Linked DNA regions of Homo sapiens: regions 1, 2 and 3 are each linked to region 4. The links are contacts of gene promoters, found by promoter capture Hi-C in blood cells and fetal thymus (Javierre and others, 2016). All regions are on one chromosome and are shown on one strand. Each heading gives the region's core, a stretch centred on a gene start or on the middle of the fragment in contact. The rest is flanking DNA. Distances are from core to core; before and after follow the strand shown. Region 1 has its middle 17 kb from the start of TRC-GCA6-1. Region 2 has its middle 36 kb from the start of TRC-GCA6-1. Region 3 has its middle 55 kb from the start of TRC-GCA6-1. Region 4 holds the start of ASTE1 (asteroid structure-specific endonuclease 1).

Evidence for each region. The method cuts DNA at HindIII sites, captures the fragments that hold promoters and counts their contacts. A CHiCAGO score of 5 or more calls a contact.
Region 1: a contact is called between a fragment that was not itself captured here and the fragment with the promoter of ASTE1 in region 4, in 3 of 17 cell types (total B cells, naive B cells and total CD4 T cells). The highest score is 6.9, in total B cells.
Region 2: a contact is called between a fragment that was not itself captured here and the fragment with the promoter of ASTE1 in region 4, in 1 of 17 cell types (naive B cells). The highest score is 5.6, in naive B cells.
Region 3: a fragment that was not itself captured here is called in contact with the fragment with the promoter of ASTE1 in region 4 in 1 of 17 cell types (activated CD4 T cells); the score reaches 5.3 in activated CD4 T cells.

Annotation. Positions count from the first base shown.
Region 1 is chr3:132,208,514-132,215,267 of GRCh38, forward strand. No RefSeq gene overlaps it. Among named protein-coding and RNA genes, the nearest start is that of TRC-GCA6-1, 17 kb to the right of the region's middle. The HindIII fragment of the contact is 1,718 bases long and covers 1,707-3,424 here.
Region 2 is chr3:132,189,397-132,196,227 of GRCh38, forward strand. No RefSeq gene overlaps it. Among named protein-coding and RNA genes, the nearest start is that of TRC-GCA6-1, 36 kb to the right of the region's middle. The HindIII fragment of the contact is 4,312 bases long and covers 1,328-5,639 here.
Region 3 is chr3:132,170,665-132,176,811 of GRCh38, forward strand. It overlaps the pseudogene PSMC2P1. Among named protein-coding and RNA genes, the nearest start is that of TRC-GCA6-1, 55 kb to the right of the region's middle. The HindIII fragment of the contact is 2,484 bases long and covers 2,063-4,546 here.
Region 4 is chr3:131,021,673-131,028,405 of GRCh38, forward strand. ASTE1 (asteroid structure-specific endonuclease 1) reads right to left here and starts at 5,153. Exons shown (of 6, transcript NM_014065.4): 1 at 4,835-5,153; 2 at 3,802-3,922; 3 at 2,333-3,659. The coding sequence starts at 3,634. It overlaps NEK11 (NIMA related kinase 11), which reads left to right and starts at 5,205. Exons shown (of 18, transcript NM_024800.5): 1 at 5,205-5,334; 2 at 6,258-6,330. RefSeq lists enhancers at 4,805-5,044, 5,185-5,244, 5,325-5,514. The HindIII fragment of the contact is 10,416 bases long and covers 5,090-6,733 here.

The DNA.
Region 1 (6,754 bases), core at 1,316-3,815, 1.2 Mb after region 4:
GCCTTTAAAACATCCTTCCCAAACCAACAGCAGAAAGAGACACACAAATTACTGCAAGACATCTATGACTATATACATACATACAACACAGTATCCTGAATCCTGAAGTTATAGCAATGCTCCTTAGCTAAAAGCACCTCAAGAAGAGAAGAGGATTTTTCAGAATCTCTGTGATGTGCCCCTTGGGGATGGGTAATATGTCCTTTCCTACTTCACCCCAACCCTATCTCCATTTCTGTAAGAATCACTACCACAGAGAGCCACTGCTACAAATGGAAAAGAGGTTAGTCTTTCAAATTGCTCAGACCAAAAATAACAGTAATAATAATAACGTTGAGAAACATTCTACACTGGAGAAACAAGAGCTGCTGTGTCACCAACCTGAATACGAGGTAGTGCTTTAAAACAGGGGCACCCTGTTTTAAAGGTACAGTAACATTTCATGGCCTGTTACGAGCCAGGCAGCACAGCAGGAGGTGAGTGGTGAGTGAGGGAGCATCCATGCCTGAGCTCCTGTCAGATCAGCAGCAGCCCTAGATTCTGACAGGAGCACAAACCCTGTTTTGAACTGCACATGCGAGGGATCTAGGTTGTACACTCCTTATGAGAATCTACTGCCTCCGAAACCATCCCCACCCCTACCTTCCATGGAAAAACTGTATTCTACAAAACTGGTCCCTGGTGCCTTAAAGGTTGGGGACTGCTGCTTTAAAGAGTTATATTGGAAGGGCATGACAACTTTTATAAAAAATTGAAAAGTGGGAGTTGAACAATGAGAACACATGGATACAGGGAGGGGAACATCACACACCAGGGCCTGTCACGGGGTTGTGGGGTAGGTAAGGGATAGCACTAGGAGAAATACCTGATGTAGATGACAGGTTGATGGATGCAGCAAACCACCATGGCACATGTATACCTATGTAACAAACCTGCATGTTCTGCACATGTATCCCAGAACTTAAAAGTATAATAAAAATAAAATAAATTTCTTAATTTAAAAAAATTGAAAAGGACATATTCTAGACAAATGCATAAGCAAAGGCCAAACATGATCTATTATTTAGAGAGATGGGATATACAAAGAAAGTCTACCCACTGAGTCATAACTAATTTCTAGACCACAATTACAGTGATAATCACCAGCCCATTAGTGGGTAGAAGATGTATCACTTGTGTCCTTCATTGTATAACTGCATAGTTAACTGTACTTGGTTCTCATTACAGCATTCTCAGAAAAACCTTTTATCATCTTTTATATATCCAGACAGGAACTGACTACATTCTATCTATTCAGAGGCAAGATTATGGTGCCCCAGCTGGAAGGAATCAGGCACTATATCTTCCCTAGCAAACTATCTAATTGGAAGCTACCTATGTCAGATGCAAGTGGCATCAATACTTACTTCCTCAAGTAAATGATACACTGCTGTTGTTTAAAGAAGCTGGACTCTGTTGCTTCAGAACTTGTTGGAAACCATCCAAACAAAACCAAGTTTATCAAAGGTCAAACTAATGTCTTTATGCCCCAGCCCACAGCATACTCAAGGCACTCTGGAAACAGATGAGTGACCTCCTCACAAGCCTGCAAACAGACTGAGCTTTTCTCCCTTGCCTCACTGAATATCCTCCATGCCTAAGTCATACTCATCCATTAAGGATCATCACATTCCACTTCCTTAAAGAAGTCCTCCTTGGCCACTCAAAGCTTCATTGGTCTCCCCTTTTACTGAAACTTTTTGAGCAAGTATTGATTACACTATAATTGCAGTATTTAATCATATACTGTCTTGTTTGTTTTTAATACTAAGGCATTTTCTGAAAATAATTTGAAAATCTCACTACCAAAGGGTTTTTCAAATAAGGGATTGGGTTCCAGGTTTTTAAATAATATGGTTATGGTTTTAATTTGTGGTTCTTTGTCAGAAGCCCGACTGTTTCCTGATCTTACCAGGACAATTACCCCTCAGAATACTGCGAATCAGGATAACTACCTCTGAAGAAGCTGGTACTCCCTGGCAGCCCATTAGCTATCCCATTCCGACACACTCACCGCTTACCCCCGCTCCTAACTTGCCAGCTTGCATTCCTGACTTCAGCTTCTCTCTTCCACTCACTGGCCCAGACATTGCCTTTTCTCATGGGGGTAGGTAACTGCCTCTGCTTCAGGCTCAGCTCTCCTCATTTAAGGCTAAGTTTCAGCCTGCCCAAATTAGGTGTGTCCCCAGCAGACACACCTAGGGTAGCCAGCTCTTGGCTGCTGTTCTAACCTCCTCCTTATTGATAACCTTGGTTCACCTGGCTGCTATTCTAACCTCCTCCTTATTGATAACCTTGGTTCACCTGGCTGCTATTCTAACGTCCTCCTTACTGATAACCTTGGTTCACCTGGCATCTACGGCCATTTGGCAGCTCTCTGCTGTCCCCTCCTGGCAATTTGTGGCACGATGTCATATCGCTCAAGGAACTCAGCCAGCTGTCTTAACTCTAGTTAAATCCTGTGGATTTGTTATTTCAGGTGACAAATGGTTGCTTATTATCACATGAGAGGAGATGTTTTAAGTTTAACTACTGTTTCTTTAGCACCCACTTGCCTATCCCACATTCAGCGACTCACAAGCAGCTAGCCCTGCCTTTATTAGATACTAGTAGATCTAAAAGTTTCTCCTAAAAAGCCAGCTATCTATACCAGACTGATATATACATATCCATGTATATAATAAAAGGAAATGGGAAATGTAACTCTAAGTGAGGCACTGAAAGTCATTATACTACTCTCTTTTTCTGATTCCTAATCCATATAATAACAAAGGTTAGGTCTGATGGTATACAATGATAATTCTCAAAGATTAGTTTATATGAGAGTTGTCTGATAAGCATGTTATAAGTTAAAATTCCTAGGTGTTACCCCTAGAAACTAATTTTCCAGGTGGGACCCAGAGTTCTACATGTTTTTTTATGTGGGGATGGGGGAAAGAGTCACACTATGTGGCCCAGGCTGGAGTGCAATGACACAATCTGAGTGCACTGCAACCTCTGTTTCCCAGGTTCAAGCGATTCTCCTGCCTCAGCCTCACTGAGTAGCTGGGATTCCAGAAACGCATCATCATGCTTGGCTAATTTTTGCATTTTTATTAGAGATGAGGGTTCACCACGTTGGCCAGGCTGGTCTTGAACTCCTGACCTCGTGATCCACCCACCTCAGCCTCCCAAAGTGCTGGGATTACAGGCGTGAGCCACCGCACCCGACCAAGATCTACATTTTTAACCAGCACCAGGTAATTCTAATGCAAGTGGTCCATAATAAACATTAGTCTACCAGCCATCTTCTGTTCTATTATTCTATTTCTTGATTCAGCCAAAACTACACACTCTGAGGTTTAGCAATGGAGTAACAGCCTAACAAGGACCTGGGGTAAAAACAAGCTTCTATAAATAAGCATATTTTATAAGCACAATAATTATGAAAGATTCTCTACCTGCTGTGCAATGATTGCAGTGCCCAAAATATGCCTAACACTATCATCTGATGTAAGAGAGAGTGTTGTAATAACTCTCTCCTCCATAATTTATCACACTAGAACTTGCCACACACAGAGATGAGAGAAATAACTGAGTCAGCAAATATTTTAGCTCTCAGCAGACAAGTAACTGCTGTTTAGAATACACTGTGGTGTCCTTTGTTAGACCCAGAGACATGAAATTGGGGAGGTTCATGGTTTTCTTAATTGTTATTTGCTTAGCCAAATGACTTATCAGACTAGGCCTCCTAATATTGTTGGAGTAAAGACCAAAAAAGAAGATATTTCAGCCAGCTTCACAGCAGCTGAAAATGTAGTTTCACTGCATTTCAAATATAGTGCTTGGTTAGCAATATTTCTCAAACTTTAAGGTGTATTTGGATCAATAGGGCTCTTGTTAAAATACAAATTCTGATTCGGCAAGTCTAGGGTGGAGGTTGAGACTGCAATTTCAACAAGTTCCTGGGTGACCCTAGGGCTGCTAGTCCACAGAACATATTTAGAGTAGCAAAGCTTTCTTTAGGTTTCTGCTGTAAAGGCAGGCTGCTTACCTTGTAATCCTGATGTTACCACTTATTGACCATCCAATCTGGGGCAAGTTGTACCTTGAGCCTTAGGTTTTTTTAATGTGTAAAACAGTATATCCTTCAAAGGGTTATTGTGAAATTTAAAGAAGGAATGGCTGTAAAACTCCTAGCAAGTGAAAAACTTCTCATAAATGTTTATCCTTTTTGCTATATGACCACACAACTTCATGTGACACCAGTAGCAGATTATGATCACTGTTTTCCAATATTATTCCCATCCTCCTTCCTGGATCATCTTCCACCTTGTGTCTACAGTCTTCACAGCCCCGAACTATCTTCTCTTATTGGCACAATAGGAGAAAGAGAAGGCAATGTGATGAAAGCAGAAAGAGAGATTTGAAAATACTATGCTGCGGGCTTTAAAGATGGAGGAAGGGGCCACGAGCTAAGAAATTAAGCTCTAGAAGCTGGAAAAGACAAAAAGAATTCTCCCCCAGAGTCTCCAGAGAGAGTGTGGTCTTGCCAACACCTTGCCTTTAGCCTAGTGGAAATGACATGAGGTTTTTGGACTCCAGAATTATGAGAGAAAAATACAGGTTATTATTTAACTTTGACTCGTCACTATATTTTTTCTATTTTTCTATTTCTGGGCCCCACCTAGACTGCCCTTTTTTATTCACCCCACTAAAATACAAATTCCATAAGGACAATGGCCCTATGTTATTACCTGCTCTATCTTAGTGGCTAGAACAGCACCTGGCACATAGCAGGTGCTCAATAGGAAGTTGTTGAATGAATAGATTAGAGCCACCTTCTCATCAACCCCTGACTTCAAGAGACTGAGTCCAATTCTTTAAGCTCAGCATTATTCTTGTTGACCCAAAACTCTACACTAGAGATGCAGCTGGATTCCGAGAGTGATTACAAGATCAGTGAATACTGGCGAAACCATTTCTGATTTGCCACTAGCAAAACAACATGAAGGAAAAGTGATCTCTTGCTCTTAAAAGCAGCAAATCGTTATTGGAAATGAGGAAGAAATGAATAGTTATTGATCATAGATGAGGAAACTAAATCTAAGAGAGCACAGAATAAGGATTCTTCTATTCTTCTTCAGGTTTGCAGTTTTTACTATCTAAACGGTTCCTCTCACATGTACTCCCTGAACTACCAACAACACATCACCAAGGAAGGTGTGGAAATACAAATTCTCCAGCCCTGCCAAGACCTACTAACCAGAAACTCTGGGGGTGAGGCTAAGAATCGGTGTTTTAATAAGCCCTCCAAGCCAGACGTGGTGGCTCACACCTGTAATCCCAGCACTTTGGGAGGCCAAGGCTGGAAGATTGCTTGAGGCCAGGAGTTTGAGACCAGCCTGGCCAACATAGCGAAACCCCATCTCTACAAAAAAAAAAAAAAAAAAAAAAAAAAATTAGCCAGACGTGGTGTTGTGATCCTGTGGTCCCAGCTACTTGACCACATAATACCGAACAGATACCTTAAGGCCTGAACAGGCTACCAGAGCTAAGAGAGATCACAAACCGCAGGAACACTCCGAGAGGAAAAAGGCAAGAGATATTATCTTGTGAGGGGAGAGAATACTTTTATATTTATTAGTTTATGAAGGGAAATAGAGGTGAAAAGTGAAAGCTTGGCAACAGAAGAGATAGATGTTATGGTTGAATGTTTGTGTTCCCCCAATTTCATATATTAAAATCTAATCCCCTGAGTGGTGGTATTAAGAGGTAGGGCCTTTGGGAGGTGACTGGGTCTTTAGGGTAGAGCCCTAATCAGTAGGATTAATGCCATTATGAAAGAGGCGTGGGGGAACTTGTTTGCCCCTTCCACCTGTGAGGACTCAGATAGAAGACACCATCTAGAAGAAAGGGCCATCACCAAATCTGCTGGCGCCTTGATCTTAAACTTCCCAGCCTTCAGAACTCTGAGCAATAATTTTCCATTGTTTATAAGTTTGTAAGGTATTTTATTATAACATCCCAAAGAGACTAAGACAATATACTTTAGAACAGAAAAGGAAATATAAAATTTAAGGAAACATAGTATCTAAGAGTGACACAAAATTTGGGATTTTCATTAAAATACTCCTGCAAAATAAAGGTAGTAGAGAGAATATATCAGATAAGATAAACAAAATGTTGGCAAATGTTCAAGCAGGGTAATAAACATTTATTACAATTCTTTCCATATTTGCGTGCATTTGAAATTTTTTCATAATAAAAAGTTTTGTGGCCAGGCGTAGTGGCTCACGCCTATAATTCCAGCACTTTGGGAGGCCAAGGTGGGCAGATCACTTGAGGTCAGGAGTTTGAGAACACCCTGGCCAACATGGTGAAACCCCATCTCTACTATAAATACAAAAATCAGCTGGGCATGGTGGTGTGCACCTGTAGTCCCAGCTACTCTGGAGGCTGAGGCGGAAGAATCACTTGAACCAGGGAGGTGGAGGCTTCAGTGAACCAAGATCACACCACTGAACTCCAGCCTTGGCAATAAAGTGAGACCCTGTCTCACTTTCTATAATAAATATATATATACATAAAATATATAAAAATATGTCATATATTTATATATTTTAACTAATTATATATAATTATTTTATATATAACATATTTGCCACTAATAAAACAACACGAAGGAAAAGTGACCTCCTCAGGCATATTTACATAATATCTATTGTACAGAAAA
Region 2 (6,831 bases), core at 2,234-4,733, 1.2 Mb after region 4:
TGATTTTTAAAATTAATTGCCAACTGGGGCTTTATTAATAGAGCAGCAGGGGTCTAAGAATAGTTCCAAATTGCGTTCACCTTGGGATTTAGGCTGTCAGGACAAGTCTGAAGAATACTAGGGCCCAGGGGAAAAGGCGGGCCGGGTGTGATTCAAGGACAGGGGCCCAGGCTTAGAGGGGTGGGGGGAAGGACCCTGAGAAGAGGATGCGATTCTCTCTCAGATTTTTCCCTAACCTCTGAAGACTGGAGTCTAAATGATGGAGAAAGAGAGCTGCAGTAAACAAGTTAGTAAATATAGCTTTGTTTGTTTATAATCTCCCTGGGCCATCAAGGGGACATTAGCAGCAGCAGGTTCTGTGGTGACATTACAGGACACATGAGGTCAGTGCCAGCAGCCTTTGGACAGGCATAACAGCCTTCTACAGCAACCACTCCATCAGGCAGTGGCAGGGCAGGGCTGGAAGAAATCTCCACAGCAGATCAGAGCATGAGAGGAAAAAGGCTAAAAGCAGGTTTGGCAGGGGAGTGGAGAGCACGTTTGAGATCTGCTGCAGGGACTTTCAGGACCCTTTGGAGGAAACCAACGTCCCACTAGGCAAGTGGGGGCAGAGATAAGAACAAACTGATTTCTGGTTATTTTTATGAAATATTCTTAGCCCCTGGCTGACTTTCTCTGGAATAATTAGGGTACATGAAAAACAATGGGAACCTCACTCTTTTTTACATAGCTTTCAAATTCAAAAATAGTCTCTTAATTCTAAGATAATGAATAAGAAAACATAAGGAATAATTACTGTGAATTGTCTCAAAATGTACATTCTAGAACGTCTATCAACATGTAATAAACCTATGTTCTATAGCTACTTTTAAGTTTTTCTTATGTCACTAAAAGTCTTAATTTCACAGCATGTCTAATGTAAGGTTTCCCCAAAGAGAATGTATTTTTTAACCCTGCTAAGCAATTTATAACCCTTTACAGGAGTCAGATATTCAAAATGCTTTTATACATATCTACTATTTTTTTCTCATTTTCTTCGAAAATCATGAATGCAGTTATTACCAGGAATTTTTCCCCTTGTACTGTTTTGGTGCCTTGCAGATTACCAAAAGCCTACAGGATCACTTTCTCACTTGAATTCATTTAAATTCTATGGTATGTGCAGGGTAGCATGAGTTGGTAGTAGTGGTAAGGCATCATTTATTGAGTCTTCATTAAGAATCAGGCACTGTAAAAGTGATTAATTATAATGGTTAATAATTGTTGAGGGCTTATTACATGCCAGGCACTATTATAAGCCCTTCCTATGAATTAATTTAATCCAATAAGCTTTTGGTTCAGACCACAAAGCCAGACATAGCCACTGCTGTGTCCTGTTTATTGGGGTCAAGAGCCTCTTAAAGATGGGTAATTTTCCCGAGAAATGGCTGGATCTAGCCATGTGCTTCCACATCTCACTGTAGCCTCTGTGGCACCCATCCCTTGACCTGGTACTGCCAGACAGATCCTGGCTGGGAGCTGATGCAGGACCAGATGGCCCATGTTCTATAGAAATCAATGTTCTATAGCTAATCAATGGCTATTGATTAACTTATATGCAATAAGAGGCATGATGGAGTCGAGTCTAGCCCTCTATGTTTCTTCGGTGGCCAAAGCATTTCTTAATCCAGGGAGGTATTAAAAAGAGAACATCTTCAGCTGTACAGGGTCTAATCCTCTGAGGCACAGGCCAAGAGATAGGAATAGATCCACGGTCTTGGCATTCATCTCATCAGGATTCTCCAAAGGGGTAATTCACACATGGGATTCCAAAGCCAAACAGAAGTGGTAACTTAGCTAGCCAGGATGCAAGGGATGAGTTGTAAACCAGGGACTGAAGGTGTGGGGCTGGGAACCAAAAAAGCGGATTATATTAATCATGTTTTTTTATTTTCTCTATTTTTATGAGGCTTTGACATCGTGTGGATCTGGGAGGGACTGCCCCTCCCAGAGTTAGCTAATTCTTAAAGATATCAAACTTTCTGAGAGCATGCCCTCGATATGCAAACCAACCAGTTCTCCCCCTTTTAGGCTACCACAGTCTATACTATTTTAGTCTAGAATAGTCTAGTATACACTATACTACTTGCCTACCCTAGTTATCACAGGGCCAGTTATCAGCCAAGTAGGAGCAGTCCCTGTGTTCCAGAGCTTGCTAAAATTATTCAAACAGCTAATCCTAAAATGATCCTCATGACCCTGTCTCACCCATTCCTTCCCATGAAAACCACAATAAACACTGTCACCCATGCTTTCCCCTGACACACTCTGCCTCCTGATTCACCCTGGTACTTCTCCATGGGGTGTGGATAATGATCCCAAAAGACGCAATCCTGAACGCCATAATCTGAATGTTGAAATCCCAAAAGACCAAAATCCCTAAAGTCTAAATCCCTACAGTCTAAAATTCCTAATGTCTAATTGAATCTCAAAGCACAATGACCGATTTAGAATTATATACAGTCAAGGCTTCTGAAAGTGAATTCAAGCTGTTACCAATAATAATTGTTTTTTTCCATTCAGCCCAATGCATTTGACAGAAAATTCAAATGAGTGAATTGGCCATGTGATACGGCAAAGATGAAAACTTCAGTTTAAAAATGCATCATGTGTCTGCATTGGTATTCCTTCCAGCTGACGAAATTCCTTGAGCTTTTATGAGTTAAAGCCATATTTGCCTGAAGAAGCCTAATGAAGTTACAGACTGGTTCAAAAATAATTATATGCACAGAAGAATAAGAAGACATGCAACAGTGTTGCTGTTCCATCGCCAATATTGTTTCTCCCAAATTTTTGGTCTGTATATGAGTGCATGGGAAATGAATTTCCACATGTTCAAAGCAACATGGAAGATGGCACAGAAGATGAGAAATTTTAATAGAAAATGCTCATGTTGGGGTACAGCAAATCATAGAAGAATTTTAAAAAGAGCAGCACCAGAGTGAGCATATTCTCCAAGGTGGGTCGTGCCCTAAAAGAAAAAATGCAGCCATGCCTCACTGTGGAAGACTTCAAAATATAGTCAATGATGGTGAAAATCAGTCAGCTCTTAGGGACTATCTCCATGCAATTGCCCATAAACTATTTCCATATACTTTTCCATATGTCAAATTTTCTTTTTCATTTCTTGGGGGGTTTTCTGGGGTTATTTTTTCCTTTTTTAGTTTTTTTCCACTATTTTAAATTGTCAGCATTATGTTTTACAATTTGCTATGCTACATATCTCATATTTGCATCATTTTCAATATTGGAGATATAAATTGCTTAGAGACTTTTAGAGAGTTCCAATTCATTTTATGTATTTTTTGCAGAGTTGACTCTATGTAAAGTGTATTATCAAAATGTTGACGTTGTGTGTAAGCATTGTGCATGTATATAACAACATTGAAACTTCCTCAGTAAATTAAGAGATGTCCATTTTGTACATCTGCATTTGTGAAAGATAAACTCTCTCAAGATCTCGATTATTTGAGAGACTGCATATGCAGTGGTGACCCATGGCAGGTTTTGACCAAATATCAAAAGACTTAGGTTATTTGTCACGGTGTTTCAGATGACAGATGTTATAAAGCTGGTCACACAATTACCAACCACAGTAATATACATTTGTACATTTCCATTTTATATATATATATTTTTATTATACTTTAAGTTCTAGGATACGTGTGCACAACGTGCAGGTTTGTTACATATGTATACATGTGCCATGTTGGTGTGCTGCACCCATTTACTCGTCATTCACATTAGGTATATCTCCTAATGCTATCCCTCTCCCTCCCCCCACCCTACTACTATACTTTCAGGGATCATTTCTATAGTTTGTTACATTTCCATTTTTGACCTATTTCTTTATAAATATAGTTTGTCTGCTTGTAATTGTTATACCTGCATGACTCTTTACCATACCTGTTTTATGCTTGCAAAAATATGTTATTGTGTATTTTGCTGTGTAAAGTGGCCTATGAAGTGTTCTGTCACGTTTTTATATATTTCTCAAATAAATCTTTTCAAAACAAATAAATATCTTTTAAACAATGTCCTTTAGTGGCCAAGTGTGGTGACTCACACTTGTAATCTCAGCACGTTGAGAGGCTGAGGAGGAAGGATCAGTTGAGACCAAGAGTTTGAGACCAGCCTGGGCAACATAGCAAGACCTTGTCTCTACAAAAAATTAATATAAAGAAAAAAGAAAAACAGTAGTGTTGTTTGTTATTTTTCCAGAATTGTATTTTCAGGATCTTTCAGGATTATGATCAGCTCCCAGTTTGGAGAACTCAGTTGAGAAACCCTGCTCTCCACACATGGAACTTCACAAAGAATTGGCATTCAGCAAACACTTACTGACTTGGCAAAGGGAAGTGTCTCTAATGCTCCAGTACAAAGGTTTCTTAGTTTGCATTCCCTCCGAAGCAAACCCTGAACCTGCTGCAAGTGGAACTGAATGCAAGTAGTTATTCGTGAGATAAAGAAAATACCAATAGGAGAGAAGTGGAGTGAGAGAGAAAACGAAGACAGCATTTTAAGGGTACATTAACAACCCAGCTACCACGGTAGGTAACTGGGGCTCAGTCTCACCGAAAAAACTTTGGAGGCCATGTGCCTCAAAGTTAACCTCCCAGAGGGGTGAGGGAGCTGGAGTACATACCGACCAGCTCCCATCATTCATTGGCAAGGACTTCTCTCAGGGGATGTCAACTCTCTAGCACTTCTATCTTGCCCAGTGCAGGGCAAAGCAGACTCTAGTGACTAGATAAGGCCCTCAGGCAAAGAAATGCAAGTGCTATCAGTTGGATGGGTGTCCAGTGGGATATGGGTGTGGTATGTGGAACATCTACTACAGAAAAGATCATTGGCAGTTTCTGAAAATTCCAACAAAGATCTCCTAGACCTCATTCTCCAAAACCAAGAAAGGAGAAATGTCCATTGATTCCTTTATTAAATATACACATACTGCCTGTTTTGGGATGTAAACATGTGCCAACTGTACAATCTAGTAGAGACAAAAAAAAAAAAACAGAGACAAGATAATAAAATGGAAGAACTGTGGGGAGGGTAATGTAGCTGTTCACAGGGTTAAAATGCATGATTACTTTGATACAGCCTCATGTCCAGAGAGGCTTGCTCTATACTTTTCATGTCATTTTAAGGGGAAATCATAATAAGGTCTGACTTCATGATCAAATCCCAGCATTCAGACAATGTTACATCAACATCCTTTAATGGGTAAGTTTGCCTGTCTATTTCGTGCTGCCATAACTCTACTTTTGTCCGTGGAACAATGACAATGACCACATATCACAAAGAGAAGCACTTGGTTGTATCAAACACAGAAGAATTCTAGGGATGAAATGGAGTACCTCAAGGCATGCCCCAAACAGGATTTACCTGGCTGACTCCTCCCTCTTCTACATTGGAGGAGGAAGCACATGGAATTCCAAAATCATATTGACTTGGCTAAAGACCCCATTCATCCTTTTTCTAGCAGCAGGACTGAATCATACAAAGTCCTTGAGCTTCAGAATTCTCAAGTGTAAAGTGGGAATAAAAATACCTTCTTTACAGGCTTATTGTGAGTATGAAATGAGACATGGGTATAAACAAGCTTCACTAAGTGTAAAATGCTACATGAGTGTTAGTAGTTGTCTTATGCTTCATGGACCATGACGACCTTGGTCACTAGTCCAATAAGAATAAAATGATCATTCACAAAGGATAAGAAGAAAGGGGTTTCCTTTCAACTCTACTTCTAGGGAAGGGAAAACAAACCTGTCCTGAGCTTCCAATATTTTTATTATACTTGAAAAAGCAAAAGGTATACTTGAAAGCACACCCCTCCCATTTCAGAGTGAATCATGTTGCTAATCACCAATACTAAAATCAAGCTCAAAAGGAGGAATGCTCAGTTTATTTTTTCAGCATTTGAAAGATGAAGCACTTAATTACACATTCTGTAATTAGTTTGTAATTCCCACAAAAGGTGTAAGAGGAATGTTAATGGTGGCCGCATGCCCTGTGAAGAGGGAGCAACATATCTGGCATTCAAGCACCATCCCATAAAAGGGGTTCACTAAGTACACTGGGGCCATCACCAGCTTTGTTCAACTACAAAGAAATCCTAAAGGCAGCTCCCATCAGCACAGTGACAATGAAGGAGAAAGGCAAAATTCTTTATATATGAAGGTCTGCCAAGGCCATCACCTAGAGAGTTAACTACTTAATTACTTCAGTTTTGTGGGACTGTTGGTCATCTCCTCAGAAAGAGATCAGGGAGTAGAGTTGAGATGACATTTTGTGTTGGATGTTCCCAGAAGTCATAGGGCTTGATTGCCTCTTTTGTATTGTTCATTTCTGCTACTGTTATACATTCCTCCCAGAACTGGTTCCCTTGGGTAGCAAGCAATTACCAAAAGCATTTCAAATGCAAAGGACTACAGAGTATGTTCAAGGTAATCAGGACCAAGAAGCCTGCTCTCCAGGCCTAAGACCAAGCAATGGGGATGTAATCACTGAGCTGCCACCAATTCACTCAGCAGGTGCCTGGACAGATATGCCCCTTGAGAAGAGGAGTTGATTTTCTGTGCAAACTATAAAGTGTGACTTACATTCCAATTTGATGGGCTCTGCCGGCTCATAGAAGCAGAGGGCAATTGGGTAGACTGTTTGCAAAAGTGGCCCCAATTATTCACTTCCCTGCCTCCAGACCTGCTTGTAATGTGATTTTGAAATTTTTCCCATCAAAAGTCTATTTTCTAATCCCTTGAGTCTGACCTGGCCTCATGACTTATTTTGGCC
Region 3 (6,147 bases), core at 2,055-4,554, 1.1 Mb after region 4:
TGATTTCCAAATTAGGAATTCAGGGCCCACATCCATGTGAAGCAACTGATTATTCCTATAGCACTTGCTTATTGCTGCTTTAAAGAAAACCTAGATTCTAGCCCTTATTCTAAACTAACCTGCTGGACAATCTTTGGTAAGTCCCTTGTCCATCTATGGACCTTAGTTCATCTGTTAAATGAAAGAGTTGGAGTAGATGGTCCTGCCCAACCTTGGCATCTTCTGACTGTGATTAACTTGGTGAGAGTTCTGAAAGTGGACTTGTTTTCCAGAAAACATAGCAGAATCCTTGTAGCTGAGATATTTGGGTGATGAGATTCAAATTCATGAAGAAGACAGGATGAAACCCTTGTATATTAACCTTGGCCAGCAAATATCCTCATTCCTTTCTCTCCAATCCCATTATTGCAGGGACTAGAGTGCCAGAAATATTATCTTATTCTCACTGGATCTTTCATATTTTTAAAAGCAACTGACATCACAGGAAAAACTTGAGAACAAGACTTAATGGAATCAAATGTGCACTTCTCTGTTATTTTACTTTGTCACATAATAATGTTATAACCCTTTATTTTCAAAAATATCTTTGAGATGAAAACAAATCTATAAAATTGCTAGTATTTTTAAAACTTGAAAAAGTTTAAGGAGGATGTTTATGGCTTTATATCTGTTCTGGTCTTCAACCATCTACTCCTCCAATCCTCCCTCACCCCAGTTTAGGGTTTTTTAAGGTTTTTGTTTGTCTGCTTGGTTTTTATTATTGTTTTTACAATTAAATAAAATAAAAATTAAAATAACCCCAACAGCAAATATCTTCAGATGCTAGAGGATTACAACTCCTGAGAGGCTTAGGTTGAAAAAGGAACTAATGCATCTTGTCTAAAGGTGTATATTTGAGATAAATCGTTTTCCAATGAATACTTAGAAATAAGCAGAGATTATTTCTTAAAAGGTCAGGTGCTTCATCTCAACAGAATGTTTTTCCACCTCTTTCAGAGGAGACCACTTACTTTCAGATATATCAACAAAAGTGCCCCTTCCCTTAGACCTAGCCAAAATGAAGAATCTCTTTATAGCTTTATTTACTCTCTGCCTTTGAGAGTTTTGCTGTTTGCCTTCTTTATCCTGATGCTTTGAAGGCTTGGAGTATTGAATAAATGGAGAAAAGATCTAAGAACCAAGTAATGGAGACACACAGTTCAGTTTCAGAGAGCTCACGGCAACCACAGAACACACGATGATTAAGAGATTAAATTATGTGACCAAAGGTAGACCCTAAATCCTCCAAATTATATATGTTTCCCAGATCCATGGGTCTACAGAGCTGGCAAAGGAGCAGGTGCTGCTTACCCAAAACATTGGCTCCTTTAGCATCATCTGTGCTCTTTCCCAGCCAAGGGCACCTATAATTACCTCCCATAAGCTGAACTCTCAACCCTGCCTCGCTCCACACATACCCACTGCTGAAAATTGTATTGGCAATTAATTTGTCAGGAAAATGCTAGGGGGTGTGAACACTGGTAATTTTATACCATAGATATTCAAATTAAACCTCGAGCCTGAGTATTTTCAGTGTCAAATTGTAGCATAGTTGCAGAAAAAGAGAGAAACACAAACTTCCTCCTGCTATCTCCTGACTAGAGGTGAAAAAGAATGTTCCATGTGGATGTGATAACCTTGGCTCCATCTCTAGGGTTGACTTGGGAACATGAACAACAAAACACACTAATTATGGGTGATACCTTTTGTGCTCCTCTTTGAGTGAAAGGAGATGGGGTTGGTGGTTGTTCTGTATCATTCCTCAAGTGACAAGAATCATTTTAATGACCAGTAGCGTCAGATACCAATAACTTGTAGAAGCCCACTCCAATTCTGCACCTGATTTTCGTGAGATTACTGTGAGAGTACTGTGTTTATAGACCCTTGGTCAATTGACAGCCATGAAAATAGCATAGGACAAAAGAGCACCAGCATAACACCAAACAGAAAGTCCCCCAAACTATCTCATGTACACAAGGAAAGCCTCTGGAACACTGGAGCTGAATCAAAACAAAGAGCTTAAAGCTTCAGATTCTCCTGGGACTATTGTTTTAAAGATTCATTTTGTTAATTATTTTGAAAGAAGAAAGAAAACTAACATTGACAGCCTACTTCAAGTCAAAAATTGTGCATACATTACATCATTTAATCTTTATATCACACTCATTAGGACCCAGGTGCAGTGGGTCATGCCTATAATCAAAATGATCTGGGAGGCTGAGGCATGGTGGTACATGCCTGTACTCCCAGCAACTCAGCAGGCTGAGATGGGAGGATTGATTGAGCCCAAGAGTTGGAGATAGAAGTGAGCTATGATCAGGCCTTTGCCCTCGAGCCTGGTGACAGAACGAGATCATATTATATATATATATATATATATGAAGATGCCTGCTAGCTGCTCCCACAGAGAAGAAACAAATGTGAGTAAACACTGGCTCTTCAAGTGGATATTCTAAGAGAACACATTGCGATTCACTAAAGAAGCAATGGGACCCACAGAGAACAAAGAAGAACAAAGTGAATGATTACAGCCACTGGGGATCCACAATGTCCCCACAAACCCTTTGCAATCCTGGGCACAGGAGAACTCCCCCGACCCATCCGGGCCTGCAGACCAACAAGAAGAACCATCTGGAGTCCATGCAGAGATATCTCTCAAGCCCACATGGAGCACCACAAGCACTGGATCCCAGAGCAGTCTGACACCAGCTGTCAATGTGCTGCCAACAAGGGAAGACAGGCAAGACAGGCTCTTTTGCAAGCCCCTAGGATAGCTGCTACAGCCACAGTACTGAGGAGCAGACCAACTGCAGACCCCACCTCTGCTGCTCCTCACCAGGCAGGGACCACCAGTTGAGGCTCCCAGCACAGCTGCCCCTGCTTGGATACTGTAGAAAGTTGCAGCTCTGGGGTCCTGTGGGATGGAACTCCAAGAGATATAACTGAAAAACCCTCTGCCCTCGCCCCTGTTGCCCTCAGGTTGAGGTGGAAACAAAGAGGCTGAATGCTTTCACACATCTCCAACAAGGACACCGCTGCCCAGATATGAAGAACTGGGCAGACTGCACACCCCACAACTCCCTGCCTTTGCTTGCCACTTCTGGTACCCAGTGCAAGCACCCTGCCTCCACATGAGCATTTCAGCTGCAGTCTAGAGTCCTGAAATCCCTACCCCCACAGGTCTTCCCTCAGGTTCTTACCACCCAAGCATTCTGCCTGCCCCTGCCTGAGAGTTCATCCAGTGACCCAGGGGCCAGCCTGCCCCTCTCTATCGCAGTCAGCACCTGAATCCTGGGCTAGCCTGATCTGGCTCCAGACCCTTCAGGACTCATACATGCAGTCCAGCGGACCATCTAGGGGCCTGGAAACTGAGGAACTACCTATCCCATTCAAATTCTGCTGGCACCTGACCACTTCTCACACAAGCCCAAAGGCATAGCCCCCGCCTTTACACAAAGAAGCAGTGCTATCATATCAGAGAACAGCCCTGCCATAAAGCTATTTGTATCAGGCTGAGTGATGAAGTTGCCCCAAACCACTTTAATGGAGAATCACAAAAGAGGCATTTTCTGAGGCTCTCAGACACATTGGTCTAGACACAGACTACAGTGTGTGTCTGAATGAGGAGTCATCAGCCCTGGAACAGGGGCATGATAGGAAAATAGACCATGTTCCTACCTATCAAAGATGGGGAGCCAGTGCAGATCCCTCATCTCCTTGCCCCGCCCCAGAGATCTCAGTGCATTTCACCAGGGACTCCTCCCAGCCACCCTTGACAGGGCTGGTGCCCGCACTCACCATGGGGGTATTTGTGGGCAAGCCAAAGGCTCCAACTCTGCCTAGCTTTGTTTCTCCACCCCCACAGAGCAAGAAGCACAGGGCACCAAGCACTCTACTGTCCAGCCCATCATGTAAAACAACAGAGAGCACCTCACAGCAAACAGACCATGTACATACCCATCTGTTTGTGCAGCAACTGGCTCATACCTGTCAGCACCGTCTACTGGCCTGTAAGTTGAATCACACAGCCCAATATAAAACTGCCCACAAAAATGCATAGGGTTATAGAAGCAAAGCCAAAAGATGTTACCCAACACACTCTACAGTCCCATCCTCTAGGAAAGGGGAGAAATGGAAATATATATAGGGAAAGAAAAAAAAATTCTACCAGCATGAAAATAAATACAAAAATTAGTAGCACCAAACTCTCCAGATGAGAAGGAACCAGTGTAAGGATTCTGGCACCGTGAAAAATCTGAACATTGTGACACCACCAAAGGATCACATTAGCTGTTCAGCAATGTTCCCTGACCAAAATGGAAATTCAGAAATAATAAATAATTCAAACCATGGAGCAAGGATGCTCAACAAAAGCCAAGACAAAGTTGAAAATCAACACAAAGAAACTTCTACAGAAATCCAGGAAATGAAGAAAGAGATAAACATCTTAAAAAGAAATCAATCAGAGCTTCTGGAATCACCTAAGGAATTTTAAAATACAACTGAAAGCTTTATCAATAGACTAGCCCAAGCAGAAGAAAGACTGTCAGAGCTTGAAGACTATTCTTTTGAACTAATCTGGTCAGACAAAAATAAAGAAAAAAATAATTTTTAAAAAAGAACAGTCTTCAGACACCACCAGAAGAAAGGAAGGTGCTATGTAATCAGTAAGGAGCAGAGGCATTTGGAACTGCTAAAATGCCAGATTACCTTGGTGCCCATCAGCGGAAGACCAAAGATGATGAGAAGGATGACAAGCCCATCCAAGTTCTGGATGAGGCGGATATTGCCTTGCTGAAAACTTATGGTCACAGCACTTACTTTAGGCAGATCAAGCAAGTCGAAGATGGCGTTCAGCAACTTCTCAAGAAAATTAATGAGCTCACTGGTATTAAAGAATCTGACACTGGCCTGGCTCCACCAGCACTCTGGGATTTGGCTGCAGATAAGCAGACACTCCAGAGTAAACAACCTTTACAGGTTGCCAGGTGTACAAAGATAATCAGTGCTGATTCAGAGGACCCAAAATACATTGTCAATGTAAAGCAGTTTGCCAAGTTTGTGATGGACTTTAGTGATCAGGTGGCACCCACTGACATTGAAGAAGGGATGAGAGTAGGTGTGGACAGAAATAAATATCAAATTCACATTCCATTGCCTCCTAAGACTCACCCAACAGTTACCATGATGCAGGTGGAGGAAAAACCTGTCACATACAGTGATGTTGGTGACTGTAAGGAGCAGATTGAGAAATTGCGAGAAGTAGTTGAAACCCCATTACTTCATCCAGAGAGGTTTGTGAATCTTGGCATTGAGCCTCCCAAGGGCATGCTGCTCTTTAATCCACCCAGTACAGGAAGACACTCTGTGTGTGGGCAGTTGCTAATCAGACTGATGCGTGCTTCATTCGAGTTATTGGATCTGAGCTGTACAGAAATATGTCAGTGAGAGGGCTCAAATGGTTCATGAGCTCTTTGAAATGACCAGAACAAAAAAAGCCTGCCTTATCTTCTTTGATGAAATTGATGCTATTGGAGGGGCTTGGTTTGATGATGGTGCTAGAGGTGACAATGAAGTGCAGAGAACGATGTTGGAACTGATCAATCAGCTTGATGGTTTTGATCCTCGAGGCAATATTAAAGTGCTGATGGCCACTAACTGACCTGATAATTTGGATCCAGCACTGATGAGGCCAGGCAGATTAGACAGAAAAATTGAATTTAGCTTGCCTGATCTAGAGGGTCGGACCCACATCTTTAAGATTCACGCTCATTCAATGAGTGTTGAAAGATATATCAGATTTGAATTGTTAGCACGACTGTGTCCAAATGGCACTGCTGCTGAGATTAGAAGTGTCTGCACAGAAGCTGGTATGTTTGCCATCAGAGCACGGTGAAAAATTGCTACTGAGAAGGATCTCTTGGAGAAGGATCTCTTGGAAGCTGTAAGTAAGGTCATTAAGTCTTATGCCAAATTCAGTGCTACTCCTCACTACATGACATACAACTGAACTTTGAAGGCTTTCAATTTAAAACTTTTAATTGGAAATCCTAACCTTATATAGACTTGTTAATAACCACTTCACAAAAAAAAATGGCTTCAAAATTG
Region 4 (6,733 bases), core at 3,903-6,402:
ATACTCAAGGAAGCATGAATTGCAAAGGAACAAGATGAAACTTTAGGGGTTATGGATACATTGATTATTTTAATTGTAGGATGACTTCACAGATGTAGACATCTCAAAACTCATCAAAGTACACACTTTATGTGCACTTTACTGTACACTACTTATTTCTCAGTAAAGCCATTACATTTTTTTTAAAAAACTCCCCAACAGCACCATTTATGCTTGAGTAGAAATGTAATTTCAGCAAAACATTAATAATGTAGCTAGTTTGAATTTTATTGGTGTGGGTAAAGTTTTAATAAATCCCTTGTTTGAGACTGACTTACGCTCCACTTTCTAGTTTTGTACCCCTGGAAATGTGCTAAAGGTAGATTGTCAGTTGTGTTACCAAGCATTATAAAAATGACTTATAAAATTGCATCTAAGCTTAAACTATATATAAATGAACTATAAACACCTGATGGGGACACCATATCTTGGGGCTTCCCTGAGTGCAGTGTCTTGTAAGTAGGATGTCCCTTGCAGGGACCTAGCTATGTTTATGGAATTATTATAAGAAAGACTGGATCCTATAGGGAACGGGGCTTTTAAGCTACTGAAACCTTTTCTTCTCCTTTATCTAACTGAGGTATAATTCATATGTCATAAAAGTCATCCTTTTAAAGCATACAATTCAGTGGGTTTAGTGTATATATATTTTTAGAGACAGGGTTTTGCTCAACAGGGAGCACAATCATAGCTCACTACAGGCTTGACCTCCTGGGCTCGAGCAATCCTCCAACCTCAGCCTCTTGAGTAGCTGTACCACCATGCCTGGCAAAAAATTTTTTTTTTTTTTTTTAGTAGAGACAGTCTTGTTGTGTTGCCCAGGCTGGTCTTGAACTACTGGCCTCAAGTGATCCTCCCACTTTGGCCTTCCAAAGTGCTGGGCTTACAGGCATGAGCCATCTTGCCTTGGTTTAGTATATTTATAAACTTGTGCAGCCATCACTAATTCCAAAACATTTTCTTCACCCCCAACCAAAGAAACCCTGGGGGTTTAACAGTCACTCGCCAATGCCAAGAAGGCTCTTGGACTCACTGCCCAATGCCAAGAAGGCTCTTGCACTCATTCACTATGACATTCATCTCCTCCTGTCTGAGATGTGACTGAAGAGGAGGCTAAGAGGCTAGTTCCTGGTCAGCTGTATAGCCCAGGGAATGGCACTACTGATATTTTGGGCTAGAGATTCTTTGTTATGGGACACTTTCCTGTGCACTGTAAGACTTACAGGTTGTAAAATTTAGCAGCATCTTTGGCCTCTCCCCACTAGATACCGATAGCAACCACTACCCCTTCTACTCCCTAGGTAGGGACAACAAAAATGTCTCCAGGCATTGCCAGATGTCCTCTGGGGGACAAAATCACCAATGGTGATAAAGCTTTGGTGTAGACTGATAACAGTGCTGGGAGAACTCTGACAGAAAAGGAAGACCTGACTTAAATCCACTGGGAAGCTGTGGTTGCCGTCCTACATCCTTAAGTAGACTGGTGCCACGTGTGGTCTGTGAGTTTTGTGAGACTGAATATTTCATTGGATCTAAGAAGATCCCCTAATGGGCATTGCAATTGTTTTTTTTTTAAGTTATCTCTATTTAATGTCTAAATCTAGTTCTTTTATCAGCATAGTTTCATATCTATTTGTAATTTTAAATATATATGTAATATAAAAAGACAACACTGGGATCCATGAGAATTTTTTTCTCCTTGAAAAGGTGGTCTGGGTGTTACTCAGGTTTAAGCAACACTAAGTTAGACTAAGAGTCATGTTTTCTGTATCAAACTAGGCAAATAACCATAATGACACAAAAACCTATTTTAAAAAAGGTATTCATTAATAAAAGTTAAAAAATTAGACCTTAGCATCAGTACTAACCTTATCTGAAATCCGATGTAGTCTGAGATGTTGTGCCTATGATTAGTGTCTATACACTTTTTTTGCAGTTGTGAATTTTTTTCCTTTTTTTTTCAGCCACGTAACCCATTCTATTGATAGCTAGTATTAACCTGGTAGTAATAACAATATAGTAGTAATAACTGTGACGATAACACAGACTACTGAAGTACAGTGGAAATGGTAGATTTAGAGCTAAAAGAGCTAGGTTTGAGTCCTAGCACTGACACTTTCTGGCTAAGACATTACCTAGTTCACTCAAGTTCTAGATTTCTTAGCTACGACATGAGGGCAAGATAGCACTCAACCTCATCAGTTTGTTATAGTAAGTGAACTAATATAGAAGACAGCACTTTGTATCCTGTAAAGTACTTTACAAAAATTTCATTAGTATTACAAATACTTACCTCAGTCAATCTGCTTAAGTCAGAATGATCCTTGGCCAGTTCTACTGCATCAATGATTGAGGTTCTGATATTTTTATTAATCCTTTCCACTTCACTGAAAGCTAGAGGCTGAGGAGGCAATGCATTCCAGGATGTCTTGTCCAGATGTGGTGAGGCATTTAAAAGAAGCCCATAGATGATTTGCCTGATGGGCTGAGATATTCTGTGGGCATTTGGTTGCTGCATGTTTTCCACCTGTGTGGGAAGAATGGTCCGTCTTAGGACCAAAGCATCACTGATGAAAGGAGATAGCTGGCCTTTAGCTAAAGCCACTAATACCCATTCTGGTAAACCAAGATTCAAGGCATCTGGACAGACATAAGTACCACACTGGAAGAAGTCCTGTAGCTTCACCTGGGACTGTTGGTATTCTTCCATGGAACAGCAGAGAAGTTCCTTAACATTTTCTCGATCCTTTTTTGGGAGGTATTTCAGAACATTATCTAGTGCTTCGGTAGGGTTGGCAAAATGAGACAACCAATTCAGAAGTCCCAGGATTCGGTGGTGTCTCCTCCCTTTAGAACTGGTAGCTCCAAGAGGAAGACGCGCTTTACTTAAGAATGTCTCCATGATGGGTAGATTAACATGGTCATTTCCACATAGCACCGCAAAGAGAGGTAGTAGAGCTTTATTCATATTGCTGAAGTGATGGCAGAATGCATCAAGGGAAAAGCATTTGGCAGGGATATAGTTTTGTGTGCCCTTAATAGTGTTCATATTTCTCCACTGAAAGCTATTCAATGGGCAAAACCCAGTTTTCAGGTCAAAAATGCAAAAGTCACTATCTGATGATAACACAGGGCAATTCCAATGGTTAGCAAGTGTCATAATGTCCCGATCTGCTTCTGAAAAGCACTGGACAAAACACACCCGCAGCTTGATCAAAACCTGTATGAATACTTCCCGGATGAGTAAGGGACATACGTACCCACTCCCACCAACAGAAAGGGAATGGGCCATCTGGATCTTCTCTCTAGCTCTATCCTTTAAAGTTGTAAGCTTTTTATCTGAAATGTCACATCCTCCATCTAATACAACATATGGGCATATATTACAAGCAAACAGTGATTCAAAGAATTTTTGTACAACATCTGCAAAAGAATCATAGTCCCCTCCATACCGGAGATCCAAGTTTGAACTGAAGCAAAGACGGTGGAAAAGAGCATAACCATCAATGACAATTTTTGTGTCCCGCAACTTCAAATCAGTGAAGAACTCATTACTATGATCTTCCACAAAACTCATTAGTCCTCGGATACCCATGATGACAGTCTAAAGAATTAATCGCCTGTTTAAAACAACAGAAAACATTTTCAATTGATGCTAGTTATGGGGCACCAAGTCATTGCTTCCAGCACCATTAAATCAATAGCAAATGTTATGAAGTGCTCTTTAGATAGAACATAGATATCAACATCATAAATTCTTACCTAGATCCTCAAGCAATGTTAGCTGTGCTTTTTCATTCTCCTTTGCTTTCTGATACAAGGCACAAATTCAATGGTTTCATGGGTTGTAATCTTTGGATGGTGACAGAGGCTGCTGCTAATTCTAAAGAAAAATCAGTTGAAGTCCATTACTGACACACCAGTATAGAAGTTCTGTGAACTTTGATTCTTAAGTGGTAATAGTCAACATCTTACAGCACAGAGTATTTGTTTTGTGGGGTCAAAGTAAAAAGTCCTAAGCTAAAAAAAAGATATCATATTCATCTCATAATCACAAAGCATTTGGGCTTCAGTAAAGTAAGGTGTGTAGGACCTATGATAAGGATCAAGTTTTTCTTTTGTATTGACAATCAGTCACGGAACTTCTTTCAGGCTTTGGATTTGTGGGCCCTTCTTAATTGGCATAGTTTTTGGTATAAGGAAAACTGCTTCATGCCTCTAGGAACCCCTCTATCCAGTTACACCCCTAACCACGAGCTCTTTTCATCATCTTATTTTGCATATCTGGCCCAGCTACGCTTCCTCACCTGGCTAACTTAACTCGCAGGATCAGAATTGATGGTTTTTCTTTTGACACCTCGGGCTTCAATATGGCACAGCACGGTACTGTTACTATTACTTAAAATCGTGACATTTTGTCAGTCATGGATTTTTTTTGCTATAATTTTGATTTTTAGAGATTGCATTAAAACTTACCTTGATTACTGAATTTTATTGGCATCCATTTACATTTTACACTTATCTCACCCTAGTTCCAGCCCTGTCAGTATCTCAGAACCTTATCCTGTATAGTACTTATTTCTTTGCAAGATAGTTTTGTAAAGCGTCCATAAGCAGAGACTGTGTCAAGGCGTCCTACGCAAATTACAGGACCTTGCACAGACAGTTGCATAGAGCTGCATAGGGGAAAGGCGGGCAAAAGGTCTGACCTAAGTCTTCAAACACAGGCCTTCATACACCGTGCCACCTCGGCCCTCACAACCCGCCGCCCGGACCTGCAGCAGAGCCCACCTACTCTGTCCTCCCAGAGGAGTAGCTCCTCCATCAGAAGCCCGCTAGAGCCCAGCGAGGACTGGCTCCTGCACGTGAGAGTCCAATCTCAAGAGCGGGAATCGGAAGTCTCCCGGTGTGACGTCTCTGGGAAGTACAGTTCCGTGATGCCGGTGGCGCCAGACTGAGCCAAGGAGCAGGTGTTCTCGGGCCCAGAGGCGCTAAGTAGCTAAAGAGGGCTGGGACGTACGTTCCGAAATGGCTGCTGTCAGGCTAGGAAAGCTTGGCCCGCCGGTCCTCCTCTGCTTTCTCCGCCTACTTGGGTCGGCGAACACTTCCGCCTTGGTGCCGCCTCGCCCCGACTTCCCAGTATGCCCCGCGCCGTCTCCCTGGCCACGGTTCCAAACAGCCGTGGCCCGCGGTGTCTGGCGCTCGGTGGGTGTGGTTGCCCCTAGTTTGAGGCCTGCCCGATTACCCGCAAGACTTGGGCAGCCCCGGGCGCCGCTCCGACCACGACAGGGAAAGGTAAAGCGAACTGTCCTCCTTGGGGCTAGCCAGGCTCCCCTGCGAGGGGGAAGGTAATGGTTTCAAGCTGCCCGGGCTGGGTTCCGAATCTCTAGGACGCCATGGCTGCGATCTCCTCGCTTTCCTGGACATCTTACCTCCGGATGTACTCCAGTCTCAGTGCCCCTCAATAAACGTTAACCTGCTTTGCCAAAATGTAAATGTTTAAAAAGGTGAAGAAGCAAGGAATTGTTCGTTTTACCTTAAGGTTAAGATTTACTTTAAAGGTAGATTTGTGCTGTAGCAGAAACTGGTGACAAATTGCCTTCCTCTTATTACCTGGGAAGATAACTACTGGTTTTCAACTTGTGATAAATACTCCTTCCGTTGTCTTTTGCCCCCAGCCAGATCTGTTTCACCGAGAACGGGTAGTTTGCACAAGGTAGTAACTTTCTCCAAGTTCCCATCTAGCTTTCTTAACTAACCTTTTTTCTCTCCTTTGGGCGGCAGTTGATCTGCTGGACACTTACTTGCCTTAACAAGGTTTGTTAAACACCTAGTATATGCCAGGAGGTATGCCAGGGATTGGGGATGCAGAAATAAAGAAGATGTGTTCGCAGTGCCCAAGTTCACTCAAACCTCGAGGGGGAGCGTGTTGTCAAGTGAACAGATAGTTCTAGAATCTAGACAATGCGACACATTCTTGGGTAGGTTTATGGTTGCGCAGAGGAGACTAATGGAATGGATGACCTAAAAGTGGACTGGGATGGGGGTGGCAGGGCTGAGTCTGTGAGGGTGGGCGGGAGGGAACCTAGTCCCAGAGTCTTCTGCAGCCTGGACCAGACTACTTAAGCACTGCTGGGTTTAGACTGTCCTTTAAAATAAGAGCCGCTAGAAGTGAACTTCTCATTCTGTCCGTCCCTAATTCTGTCCTTCTCTAAAAGGAACCTTAATCTCATCTTTAAAATAAGGAGAATTACTGAGTGACCTGAAGGACCCTTTTCAGCTGGAAAGTCTGTAAGTCCATATATTTATTTGAACAGCTTAGTATGGCCAGACGGCATCACTTTTATGACAGTGAAGGGGAAGTAAAAACAAAAGGTATATTTAGAGGCCTGCTCTGTAGTTGTTTTTCCAGCAGATTTTACTAACGTGTCTTTGGAAGGGAAAAGAAAAAGCTGGTAACTAATCTCACTGGTATTAGGTACAACTTAACTGATTCATACATTTTAAGAAGGAAAATGTTGTAAATGGGCATTTACTTATGTTCTGTTTTGAGGATTTTTGTGGTTAATTGCCCTAGTAGTTTTTGTGGTTGACGGACACCACCACGTAAAGCCCATTGACCATCCTTAAAAACTAGGTTTTTGTCTCATAGCTTTGGAATTGTTGAATATGAAAACCTAACTTCAAGGTGTAG